3 separate regions of the Homo sapiens genome follow, and all the other regions are linked to region 1. The links are contacts of gene promoters, found by promoter capture Hi-C in human tissues and cell types (Jung and others, 2019). All regions are on one chromosome and are shown on one strand. Each heading gives the region's core, a stretch centred on a gene start or on the middle of the fragment in contact. The rest is flanking DNA. Distances are from core to core; before and after follow the strand shown.

Evidence for each region. The method cuts DNA at HindIII sites, captures the fragments that hold promoters and counts their contacts. A contact is called where the count stands out against the background at its distance.
Region 2: a contact is called between a fragment that was not itself captured here and the fragment with the promoter of ARFGEF1 in region 1, in 1 of the 25 tissues and cell types used here (lymphoblastoid cells).
Region 3: a fragment that was not itself captured here is called in contact with the fragment with the promoter of ARFGEF1 in region 1 in 1 of the 25 tissues and cell types used here (mesendoderm cells).

What each region holds. Positions count from the first base shown.
Region 1 is chr8:67,341,390-67,345,518 of GRCh38, reverse strand. ARFGEF1 (ARF guanine nucleotide exchange factor 1) reads left to right here and starts at 1,738. Exons shown (of 39, transcript NM_006421.5): 1 at 1,738-2,355. The coding sequence starts at 2,232. ARFGEF1-DT (ARFGEF1 divergent transcript) reads right to left here and starts at 1,685. Exons shown (of 5, transcript NR_136224.1): 1 at 1,217-1,685. RefSeq lists silencers at 1,448-1,707, 1,888-2,117 and an enhancer at 2,044-2,724. The HindIII fragment of the contact is 2,723 bases long and covers 15-2,737 here.
Region 2 is chr8:67,722,212-67,726,340 of GRCh38, reverse strand. The region is part of intron 1 of CPA6 (carboxypeptidase A6); the gene reads left to right. Among named protein-coding and RNA genes, the nearest start is that of CPA6, 22 kb to the left of the region's middle. The HindIII fragment of the contact is 4,297 bases long and covers 1-4,113 here.
Region 3 is chr8:66,968,969-66,973,097 of GRCh38, reverse strand. The region is part of intron 7 of PPP1R42 (protein phosphatase 1 regulatory subunit 42); the gene reads left to right. Among named protein-coding and RNA genes, the nearest start is that of TCF24, 8.4 kb to the right of the region's middle. The HindIII fragment of the contact is 6,698 bases long and covers 1-4,129 here.

The DNA.
Region 1 (4,129 bases), core at 489-2,988:
AACTTGTGGTTCTGCCATCTTCAGCTGTGGCCATAGAAGGGAAAAGAGAGACTGGGCATGGTGGCTTATGCCTGTAATCTCAGCACTGGGAGGCTGAGGCAGGAGGATCGCTTGAGGCCACGAGTTCAACATGGTGAGATGCCATCTCTACCAAAAGAAAAAAAAAAAAAAGGGAAACAGCATGAAAGATTGCTTGTGGGAATTTCTTGTTGGTTTTTTAACAATAGGTTAAGCCTGGATGGCTACACCTAACTTCAAGGGAGGCTGGACAATGCAATTCTATACTAAGAAAGAAGAGTAAATGGGTTTGGTGATCAGCTAGTACCCTCAACAGTACCTGGCACAACACTCCATTATGAAGAAACAAAGATGAATTAGAAATGGATCAACACCTGTGAAAGAAGGGAAGAAAAAAATAAAAGAAATGGAACTTGTTCTAAAAAAGTTTATTAACGTATACACAGAAATCAGTATTATATCTGATCTAAGAGTATAATGAATCCTTCATTTCCAGGAATCTAGAGATAGTCTCTAAAATAAAATTAATGAATTTATAGATTTGTTTCTCAGGACAATAAAGTTTAAAAAAATTAATCTATTTTTCCACTTTAATTTGTCACCTTCAAGTTTTCCATTTTATTTCCTCTGGGTTTTAGCCTTCCTAAATCTGGTCACTTCACTAAGTTCACAGAGTCACTTAAGTTTCTCCTTCCTTAGGTTTGGATGGTTACGTTAGGACAAGCCTATAGTTAAGGCAATCTAATAGAACAGAACAGTGACAGATGCATAGTAAACATTAGGGAACCTGTGTGCGTGGAGCCACAGAAGCTTAGAACTTGGAGACGTGACCCTAGATCACCATATATAATGTTTGCAAATATTTTTATGGTATTCTTTTTCTGCTCAGAAGGAAACTGTAGAAATTAAATACTGCAGAAATTTGAGTTCTACACTCAGACTAAAGCAAACACATGGTCACGTGTGTTAATCTGTTTGTACTTAAAGCTTTTCCATTCTAAACTGGTTTACATGTCCTGGACTAAATCTTAGTATTAAAGGCACAGAAACACAGAACTCTAAGGGACCTCATTCACAACCATTCACCTTAACTGAGTCAATTCAGAAGGGACCTGAAATCTAGAGTTGACCGATTTATCCGACAGAGAGAGAAAAAAGTGAAACATTTTTGAACCCTTATCAATAGGTTTTGGCTTACTTTTCCCAAAACAGAATCCTCCCTGAGGTAGTCGGAGAGCAGAGTCCTGGACAGCAGTTCCGTGCACTAGGGAAGGAAATTTTAGAGTCGAGTGATGCAGGCGGAGACCCTGCGGCTGAGAACGGGCGATGCGGGTGTTGCTGTGACCCCTGGAATGCAAAGGACTGCACCCCCATCAGAAAGTTAGAAAGCCAGTGCAGAGTAGCCAGGAGTCCTGTTCACTCGGCAGGAGCAGGGGTGCCGAGTGGGGGGATCTCTGGTCCCGCAGCTCGGCCGCCACCAAGAGCCCGAAGTGCTGGGCGCGGTGCCACCAGAGGCCCGCCACGCCCCACGCCGCCCTGCAGGCGAACGCTGGAGGCCCCGCCGGGCCGCCGTAGCGCTGCGGCTCGGGCCGCTCCTCCCGCGCCGCCCTCCGCCCCCAGCCTCCCGGCGCCGCGGCAGCTCTGGGCAGGGAGCGCCGCCGCCGCCGCCGCCGCCGCCGCTTCCTCGTCTGCAGCCGTTCGGCCGCTGCGTGACGCGTCGTTTCCTCCCAACATGGCGGCCGGGGCAGGTCGGCGGTGATGGGGGCCAGTTCGCGGCCGCGGCGGGTGCTAATCCCCACAGTAGCCAGGGTAGCCCTTCTCTCGCGGTGCCTCTGAGAGCCGCCGCCACCTCGTCCCTCAGTTCCCGGCAGACAGCCGCCCGGGCCGGGCTCCCTCACCGCCACCAGGGCCGGAGGGACGAGTGAGAGGGGCGGCCGGGACGCGACCCCCGGGCCGGGAGAAGCGGAGGCCCGACGGGCGCGGCCCTCGAGGTACGGCTTCTTGGGGGCGGCGAGGACCTCGACGCCCTTCGCCGACACCGCGGCTGGTCCCGCTCGCCCGCCCCTTCCTGATCCTGCCGCTGCCCTCCACGCCTCCAATCCCCCACCTCCACCCCCTCTCCTTTCTCTCTTCTCTTCCTTCCTCTCCTCCTCCTCCCCTCCAGCCGCTGGGAGCCGCGGGTCGGACGAGCCGCCGCCTCCTTCTCTGCGTCCATGTATGAGGGGAAGAAGACGAAGAACATGTTCCTGACCCGGGCTCTGGAGAAGATATTGGCCGACAAGGAAGTGAAGAAGGCGCATCACTCCCAGCTGCGCAAAGCTTGCGAGGTGGCGTTAGGTGAGCGGGGAGGAGGCCCGGGGGATGGGGTGCTTGTTGTGGGGCGGGGAGGGGGGCGCCTGTGGGGGGGTGGGGTCGCCCGGGGCTTGCCCGAGGCCCGCGCCTCTGACCTCGGGAAGCCCTCGCGGAGCCCTCTGTTCCCTGTCTGGAGTTGACAGGAACTCGGCTGGATGTGGGGCAGAGGCGGGGTAGAGGAGGAAGGGCAGTGAGCTGGGCTCGGGAAACGCGGCAGGGCTTAGGATCGCGGGGCACCTGGGTTCGAGGGATCGACTTGAGAGTGAGAGGATTTTGTTGGTGGTCCGTGAGGTGCGGACTGGATACCACCCTTTGTGATGAAGCAGAAGATGAGCTGTTGTTTATTAGCTTGGAAATTGAGGTGGGGCTGGTATGTCAAGATTGGGTGTGGGAAAGGTTCCGTATCATAATTAACAATAACTTTTTCGTTTGGCGAGGTACTTTGGGGAGATAGGCTGCTGAAGTTGTTTCCTTGTTGACAGTCTTGAGAAGGGGTTTGCAAGAGGTGCAGCCCGTTCTGACATCTCTCCGCCTCCGCCACAGGAAAAACATAGAGTAATATTGTATCTGACTGGGCTGACCTGGAAGAACAAGACCGGTGGTTAAGGGGTGAGGGTGGGGGTGGCGGCATGAAAGCAGGGAAGCAAAGAACCTTTAGATAAAATGGCTTTAGGTGACAAGGGAAGGGAGGGTTTGAAATGAGGAAAATGAAAAAGACAATGACACCCACCAGCCACATGTCTGGACAGTGGCAGCTGCTCTCAAGCTTGAATTGTGATTTATAGTTCAGATGGAAGAGATCTAGTGTAATGAAGCCCGCAGCAGGGAAAATCCAAACAATACCTCCTACCTATGAGGTTAGGCAGATGAGGAGTTGTTAAAGGGGGAACATTGTTAGATCTATTGCATCCATCAAAGTTGAAATCGTTTGAGAGACCAGAACATTTAACACAAAGATACATTCCTAATGTTTACACTTTATAGCACTGGAAATACACTAGGTCAAATTGGCAAGAAAAGGAAGCTTGTTAAATGGGCTTTACAAAAAAGCATTCTTGAAAGGGGAAAAATCCACAATAACTTAAAGTATGCTAGAGTTAAGGAGTCTAGACAACTTAAAATTAGCTTTTAATTATTAAATGGAAGACTACCATTTAATTTGCTGTAATATACTGTAGTTTTTTTTTCCTAGATCGTTAAAATTGGTAATATGAAAAACGTCGAAGAAATTTCATCTTAAAACATTTGAATGTGTAGTATTAGGGGCTTAAGATTATTTTTTCACCTTACTTATCGACCAGAAGTTTGCATTTTGTTATTTTTGTAGCTAACAAAAGACTGTTCCCGGTGTATGAGAAGACAGTTGTCTAGTGGCAAAAACTGTATTTATATCTAGATCCTGAAAGGAATAATATTAAATTGGAGTGAGACTGGGGAGAAAGTGATTTCAGGATTTTTAAAAGAATTGTTATATGTAGGTTTGTAAATTACTTGAAGGTTGAAGAACTTTAGAGAGATTCAAATTAAAGTTTTAAATTTTTGTTTGTTTTTTGAGACAGGGGCTTGCTCTGTCACCCAGACTGAAGCGCAGTGACACAATCAGTGCTCAGTGCCGCCTCAAACTCCCAGGATCAGGCATTCCTCCTGCCTCAGCCTCCCAAGTAATTGGGACTTCAGGCACACCACCACACCTGGCTAATTTTTTTTTTTTTTTTTTTTTTTTGGTGGAGATGGCGGTCTCTCTATATCGCCCAGGCTG
Region 2 (4,129 bases), core at 716-3,215, 380 kb before region 1:
AGTTTGTCTGCATAAATTTTCTACTGCTACTCCACTGCTTGATAAAATTCCTCTTCCCTAATCTTTTCTGACTTTCCATCACTTTGAACTTCTCACTGTTTGAGTAGACATCACCAGTGATCTATATATACTTCATTATCTCCCTAACCAGTAACCTCAACCTGAAAACTATAAGAAAAAGAGCTTCTGAATAAAAATTATTTTTCAATCACTTACAAATCATTTTTCTTGGCCTCTGTCTTGCTCTCATGAGTTCTAAAACCTTGATTAAAGAGGCTTTTGTCTTAAAACTCAGGCTTCTGGTTAAGGAATGTTGAAAAATCTTAAATTTGCAGCTATCTTAAGTGACAGATCATAGCGCAAATCTGGGGTACCCATTGTCATCCAGAAAAAAAATTATCTTCAAAGTAGGATGGTCCAAAGTAGCATACATATCTAAAATTTATTTTATCTCATTCTTAAGTACATTTTAATTTTTTGTGTTTTATAATGTAAATAGCCAAGCATGGTGGCTTACGCATGTTATCCCAGCACTTTGGGAGGCTGAGGCAGGAGGATTGCTGAACCAGGAGGATTGCTTGAGGCCAAGATTGCTTGAGACCAGCCTGAGTGACACAGCAATACCTTGTCTCTACAAAAACAATTTTAAAATAAAACCCAGGCACAGTGGCACAAGTCTGTGGTCCTAGCTACTCTAGAGGCAGAGGTGAGAGGATCTCTTGAACCCACGAGTTCAAGGTTGCAGTGAGCTATGGTTGTGCCACTGCACTCCAGCCTGGGTGACAGAGTGACTCCATCTCTAAAAAAACGAAATGTAAAATACTGGTACATTAAGTAACAATGTAGATGTAAAATGACTTAAAGTCTATGGAGATTGAAGTTGCTTACAATTTTCAGTCATGAAGTTTTGAAAATGGAGGTGATGATGATCTCAAAGTTCCTTGTTCACCAACAACAGCATATACTGAGGCCTATATTCATTTATTTGTTAAATTTGTATTGAGCACCTATATGTCCCAAATTGTTTTAGATATTAGGAATATAAAGGGCTAGCACTAAGGCAGAAAAAAAGCACCTGTTTTGTGAAGCCCATAATTTCACGAGGGAAACAAACAATGAACAAGTAAACAGTTATAAACTCTTACAACAGCTATGATATAAATAAACAAGATACTGTGGTTTTTCTTTACTCATTCAACAAAGGTTTTGATCATCTAATACATACCTGGAACCATGCTAAGCACTCTACACAAAATGGACATGATCCTTGTTTTCACTGAATTTCCACTCTAGCCCAGGTAGCCGACTATTCTAGCCCAGGTAACTCAGATTAATTACAACTGTGGTTAAAGTTATAAGGGACTTCTCCTTTATAACTTGTTAACACAGAATGCTAACAACTCAGAAGGAACTGATAACCAAAAATTGGGGGATGAGTCTAAGATGGAAGAGGACTTCCTGAAGATGTTATCCTTAAGGCAGGGCCTTGAATGATGAGGAATTTGTTGGGCATGGCTGTGAGAGCAGATCAGAGCTGTTGAGAGTCTCCAGCTTGGGAAAGGAAGTAAGGGGTACATGATTGCTCCCGTTGCTTACTGATTATTTTTAATTGTGTGGTTTTAAGGGAAACTGGGCCCAATGGCTTACTGTCAGTTGTATGTAGGACATTAGACTTTGCAAAGCACTTTGTCTTGGGTTGTCTCAGTTGTTCCTCATCTATGTGTGTGGTATGCAAGTAGTTGCTTTCAATTCTCATAGATATAAGTGCTACACAGGTGTCTTCTCAAAACTCAGTTTCTAAACTCTGCAAGTAAATGTGTCCTTCCGTTGTAGGGCACACCTGAAATTGGTGAAGTGGTGCTCAGTGGGGCTTTTTGTTTTGTGTACAGAGCTTTCTGAATATAAGCTTTTGGCTTCAAGAAGCATTGAGCTGCTGTAAGTTCGCTGCAGAGTTGAAAGGGGAGACGTGGGGGCACACGTCAAAAGGACAGCTCAGCTGTGATTAGGAGGTATGTGAGGTTTACCAAAGGCAACACACCACATGAGAAAATCAGACCCTGGTGCCAAGAGGCCCTACAGCTAGAGAAAAGAGGTGAGTGTGAGAAGGCCATGTAGGAGGAGAGACATCTACTCATTGATGTATCTGATGTAAACAAGCACAGGTTCTACATTTTAAACACAGGGGACTTCAGAAGTAGTGTGTCAGAGAGGGAAAAAAGTCAGTGAATTTGTATGCTTTGCTCATTTTTGGGTTTTTTTAAATTTTTAATTTTGCATTTTCTTATCAGCTTCTGAGAGAACCATGTATTAGAGATATTAATCCTTTGTGTATCATATCTGTAACACATGCTTCTTTACCAATCTGTCATTTGTCTTTTGACTTTTTCTGTAAGGAAAAGAGCAATAGAAACCATCTTAATGGTTATAATTCAAATCCACCATTAGTTTTTCTTTCTTTGTGGTATTTAGTTTTAGCTTGTTTAAAAATGTCAAATATTGCTCCCACTCTAAATATTCTAGGATTGTTTTCCTGCTGATTTTGCATAATTTTTCTTTTTTACATTTAGATCTTTATATGGAATTATTTTTTTGTACACAGTATAAGGAAGAATATAACTTAATTTTATCCTAGAGGGCCATTTACAGAAGAGAATATGCAAAGAAAAACTAACTTACATAAAAAGGCACATTTCACTCACAAGGAAATGCAAATTAAAACAATTAAGTGTTTTAATTTTTCCCATAGATAGAAAATGCTTAGTGCTGGTGAGGATGAGGAAGCAACTGGAACTGTCATATAGTGCCAGAGAAGGTCAAATTGTTATAACCTCTTCGGAAAGTAATCAGCTGAATCTAATAAAAGTTAAGATCCTCCGCCACGCACGGTGGCTCACGCCTGTAATCCTAACACTTTGGGAGGCCAAAGAGGGTTGATTCCTTGAGCCTAGGAGGTTGAGACAAGTCTAGGCAACATGGTGAGACCCTCGTCTCTATTTAAATAAAAATTTCTATATGTCAAAAAAAGTTTTAAGAGTTAAGATCCTCACACCCTTTTGATAAATCCTATTAGAAAATACCTGTCTGAAATAAAATAATTAGCATGTGTGTTAAAATTGTAGCACTGTATGTGTTGATTTTTCTAAAAGCTGAAAACAAAGTCCATCAGTACGGGAACAATAGAAAAATCATGATATATCTATAATATGGAATGTTATGAGGCTATTACAAAGAATGAGTTATGGCATATATTGAACTAGAGGGGTGTGTGTGATATATTTTAAAATGAAAATAGAGTTTGAGAGTAATATGTATGATTCTATTTTGGAAATGTGCTGATTTTTAGAGTGTAGGGGATGTTTTAGTGTATGTTTAGGTTTTTCTTTTGGTGGGGAGGAAATGGTGGTAGTGGTAATTTGTGAGCGTAAATCAACTTCTCCCTTTAACATTAAAATGGTCTGGTATACCAACATGAGAGATTTAATTTTATTACATAGTGATGTATTTCATAAGAACTGAACTAAGTAAGAAGAAACCTGGGTTCCATTTTGATTTGCATGTCTTGGACTTGTCATTGTGTTCCTGGCATCTCTTCTTCCCAACACATGATGAGGAAATAAAAAATATCAAGTGCTCCAAATGTCCCTGAAATAAGGGTATCATAGGGCAAAAGGATAATCTTTCCCCTACAGTTTGTAAGCTCTGGTTAAAGGCCAAGGTTTCCAAGTTTATAAATTAGTATCTCAGTTTCAGCCGATCAGGGAAGGACCATCATTCTTTTCATTTGAGAGAAGTTCGGTACTGTGATGCTCATACTTAGCATATAGGATATGTAAGCTCAGACCAGGTCACAGCCTAGTTTACTTCACCGCACACATCTAGAAGGAAATGAGCGGCTCTCAAAGCTGATTTTTTTTTATTAGAATTACCTGCAGATTTAAAAAATGTAACTACAAACACCCTGGGCTTGCCCCAGATGTACTGAATTGGAGTATCCAGAAATTGGACCCAGGAATTTATTTTTTCAGTGATTACCAGGTGGTTCTGATGCATCTCATCCATAGACTGTTGTTTGGGGACTATTGTTGAAATCTAGTAAATGAAGTCAAGCTGCCTGCCGAAGGTCAAATAT
Region 3 (4,129 bases), core at 580-3,079, 370 kb after region 1:
GAACTGACATTTACTGTGCTAAACATTTCAGATATTTACATACATTACTGCATTTAATCATTATAACCTGTGAGGCAGAAGATCATTATATGCATTTTGCAGATGAGAAAGTTCAGTTTCAGCAAATGAAGTGACTTGTCTTGAGTTTACAAAGCTAGCAGGGGGCACAGGCTAAATGAAGCTGGGATATAAGGACAATTAATGTTCTAAAGCAATAATGCTCTACTTAGAAATTCACTTCAATTTGGTGGGAATTTGGGAAAATAACAGATGTGGAAATATGTGATATGTAAACAATTTTTATAACTAAAAAGGAGCTAGAGGAAATAGGATAATATGACAAATTTCAAAATTTTAAAGGGAGTACTCAAATAGATTACATAATTTACTATATTGAAAAATGGTCTCGGCCAGGTGCGGTGGCTCATGCCTGTAATCCCAGGACTTTGGGAGGCTGAGGTGGGCAGATCACCTGAGGTCAGGAGTTCACGACCAGCCTGGCCAACATGGTGAAACCCCGCCTCTACTAATAGTACAAAAATTAGCCGGGTGTGGTGGCAGGCGCCTATAATCCCAGCTACTAGGGAGGCTGAGGCAGGAGAATCACTTGAACCCGGGAGGCAAAGGTTGTAGTGAGCCGAGATTGTGCCACTGCATTCCAGCCTGGGTGACAAGATGACACTCTGTCTCAAAAAAAAATGGTCTCTAAAATCAATTAAAATAAAATTTAAAGTGAACACACTGAGTAGCTGCAGCAGAAAATTTTCTGAGCTTTTCTCAGGAGTACTTGGTTATTCTTCCTTGGCCATTTGTAGGTCCTCCCTCCCCTTTGCCCATGTTTGCCATCCCCATCCAAACAGATGGTACAAACCTGGAACTCTCAGGCTTAAAAGCAGTGACATCCCTGTATACACGTATGTAATATACAATAACTCTATCCTTTTGTATATGTCCAATAGCATACTATATGGTCTTTATGCAAAGACTCTTTTATAACTGTGCAAGAGAAAGGGAAAGCATAAATTAAAATCTAGAAAATATATTATGTATTTTCAAAATCTACAGTATACCTACCTTTCAGGTCTTTAGAAGAGTTAAGATGAACTTTTTAAAGGCACCTCTGTGCAACCAAATACATTGTAAGGGAACAGGAATTCTTAAAAAGATGGTAATAATTTTTGTACTTCCTAATCTTTTATGTGTTTTTGATAGCCTTGTAAATTTGGAGCTCTATATTGGGGATTATGGTAAAATTATAGGAATTATTATAACCTCTAACTTCAAGGATCTTACAATTTAAAAATCTTATCCTAAGTATAGCCATATAGCTATATAACACAAAATTGTAAACATACTTTAATATCTTAATAAAATCCAAAATATTATACTCACATCTTTTAGCCCTTTCTTTTATAGCACTTCTATAGAAAAATTCATAACAAACATTTAATAAACATTTATTAAGCACCTCGAATGTGTCCAAGAATATGCCAGCCACTGTGGATTAGAGGTGAATAGGGCTGTCCCTACTTAAAAGGAAATTACTGCTGGAAAGGGAGGAGGATCTGAAAGCAGGTAAATGATATGGAATGTTAAGTGCCAGAATAAAGGTATGGACATATCCCCAAAACGATACACGATTAATTTACTCCCTACAAGTTAAACAATTTGAAAAAATAAACTAACTCAGAACAGTAAAATTAAGGGCAGTTAATGTTTATATTAATGTTGGCATGCTCATTTTATTTTAAGAGTTGATCATGAACTTTCCTGTATAGGTTTTTGTATATGAAAGTCTGTGCTATTTTTTCCTCGGGTTATTAATTTTATTACTAGTTTTACTGTGTATTCATTTGGCTTTATTTAATTTTTAGATAATCTAATATTGTTATACCCTTTTTAAAAATTTAGTTATTAATTTCAAAGCAGAATGCTTTTATTTCTTTGTGTGCTACAGGTAACTTCAAAACAATGCATCATATAGTTCCTGTTTATTACCCACAGGTGGGTAAGCCAAAATTAGCCTTTTTCTCTGAAATACAGAGATACCCTGTAAATGCAAATGCATCTCCAGAAAGTTCCTGAGAAGATTACACTAAAATTATTTAAGAGATGGGGTAGGTTCTTTCAAATATTTATGTGACTTTATCTTTTTGGTGGGGAGGAGACATCTTCACAGTAAACAAAGAGGAACAGAGGCCATCCAATCTGTCTCCTAGTTCTTTGTTCTCAATCCTTTTTGGCCAAACATAGAAAGAAAGAAAAAAAAAGTTCATTGTTGGTCTGCCCAAACACTCAGAAAGTTACGATGGGAAGGGGTGTTTCCAGAAGACTTCGGCGTTAGACTGGATACACCCACTGAGGTAAGGTAGGAGACTCCGAAAAGTCCCAGAGGCAGTAGGTAAAGATGTCTCAATGATCAGGGATTCTGTCAAAGGAGCCTGAGGCCTAGCTGATGATGACTAGTCCACCAGTGGGTGGGCGACTTCAGAGCATATGGTTGCAGAAAGTCCAGAGGCCTACAGAATTAGACTACTTTCACCACTTCTACAAACCAGATTTTTAAGCTGTTGTCTCTGAAGGAGGCAGAAGTTTCTCCTGATGAGGAAAAATTTGCTTTTTGGTTTAAAAAAGGTATTGCTTTGATGGAAAAATAAACCAGAGCTGGGGACAATGGTTCACGCCTATAATCTCAGCATTTTGGGAGGCTTAGGTGGGCAGATCATTTTAGTCCAGGAGTTCAAGACCAGCCTGGCCAACATGGAGAAACCCCTTCTCTACAAAAAAAAAAATACAAAAATTAGCTGGACATGGTGGTGCGTGCCTATAGTCCCAGCTACTTTGGAGGCTGAAGTGGGAGGGTCACTTGAGCCTGGGAGACAGAGGCTGCAATGAGCTGAGATCGCTCCACTGCACTCCAGCCTGGGCAACAGAGTGGGACCCCATCTCAATAAATTAAATAAATAAATACCCATACCAGAAAGTAATTTCATTTATATATAAAACATGAGACATCTGCCATATGCTGGGCAACACTGAATATAAAAACTCAAATGAGATAATCCTGATCTCAAATATTTTGCCACAAGCTAGCTGGGGAGTCAAATGTGATATAATTACTCTATAATGTGATAAATGCTATGGGCTTTAAAAACCAGATCCTAATACATCTTATAAATTTTGCATTAAACTTATTTTTTCATTTATAATCAATACAATGATTGCTCTATTGATCCTTCCAACCAAATAAGATTAGTGATCGCAATATACTAAAGGCCAATAATAGCATATTTCATTGAGAAAGTAAACAGAGCCAGGGGACATACTTTGGAATCGTTTTCCTTTTCCCAGAACTGCCTGCTGAAGGTCAAGTGGGCTTATCATGACACCCTCTTCGAAGGGTCCCATCGAGGGATGATGATTTAGAATTGCCTAGTACAGCCCACCTCAAGAAGCCCTGTGAACATTACTGCTGCACTGTCCTACCCCTATTCCCTGCAGAGTGGCTCAGGCTTGCTGGGATGCAGTCTTAGGAGAGAGAAGGTCTGTGGGTATGGAAAATGCTTTATTTGGGGAGAAGTGAAAGGATATGCAGGGAGTCCTCGTTTTGGTCTTGCCTCCTCTCCATTCACAATAAAACAGGAGCTATGTGAGACATTTACTGCTTATGTCCATTGTCATTATCACCAAACCATTGCCTACTTGTCCATAGCACCACAATAATTTCTTAAAGATTTACACAACTGTTATCAATTCCACAACAGTGTTCTTAAGTTTTGTTGCTTTGCCAAGCATTTTGAAAAATCTTGCTAGTATATCATCAAGGAAGAAAATAAAACAATAAAAATGTACACAGCCTCAGAAAACAATGTTGATGAATTCTATACATTGCCACGTGCATTGTTAGATCAATAGTGAGCTGTGGCCCATTCCACATATTCTGTAGCCCCAAGCAAAGCTCAAGTCACTAGGAGTACACTGATAAAACATCAAATAAATCACTCTACCCTCATTTTCCTAACTACGAACACTAAATACAGAACTAAATGCATTTTTTAAAATACAAACTACTATGTACTGCAAAGATAGGCTATCCTAAATGAAGCCAGCAAACCAAAAGGGTTCTGTG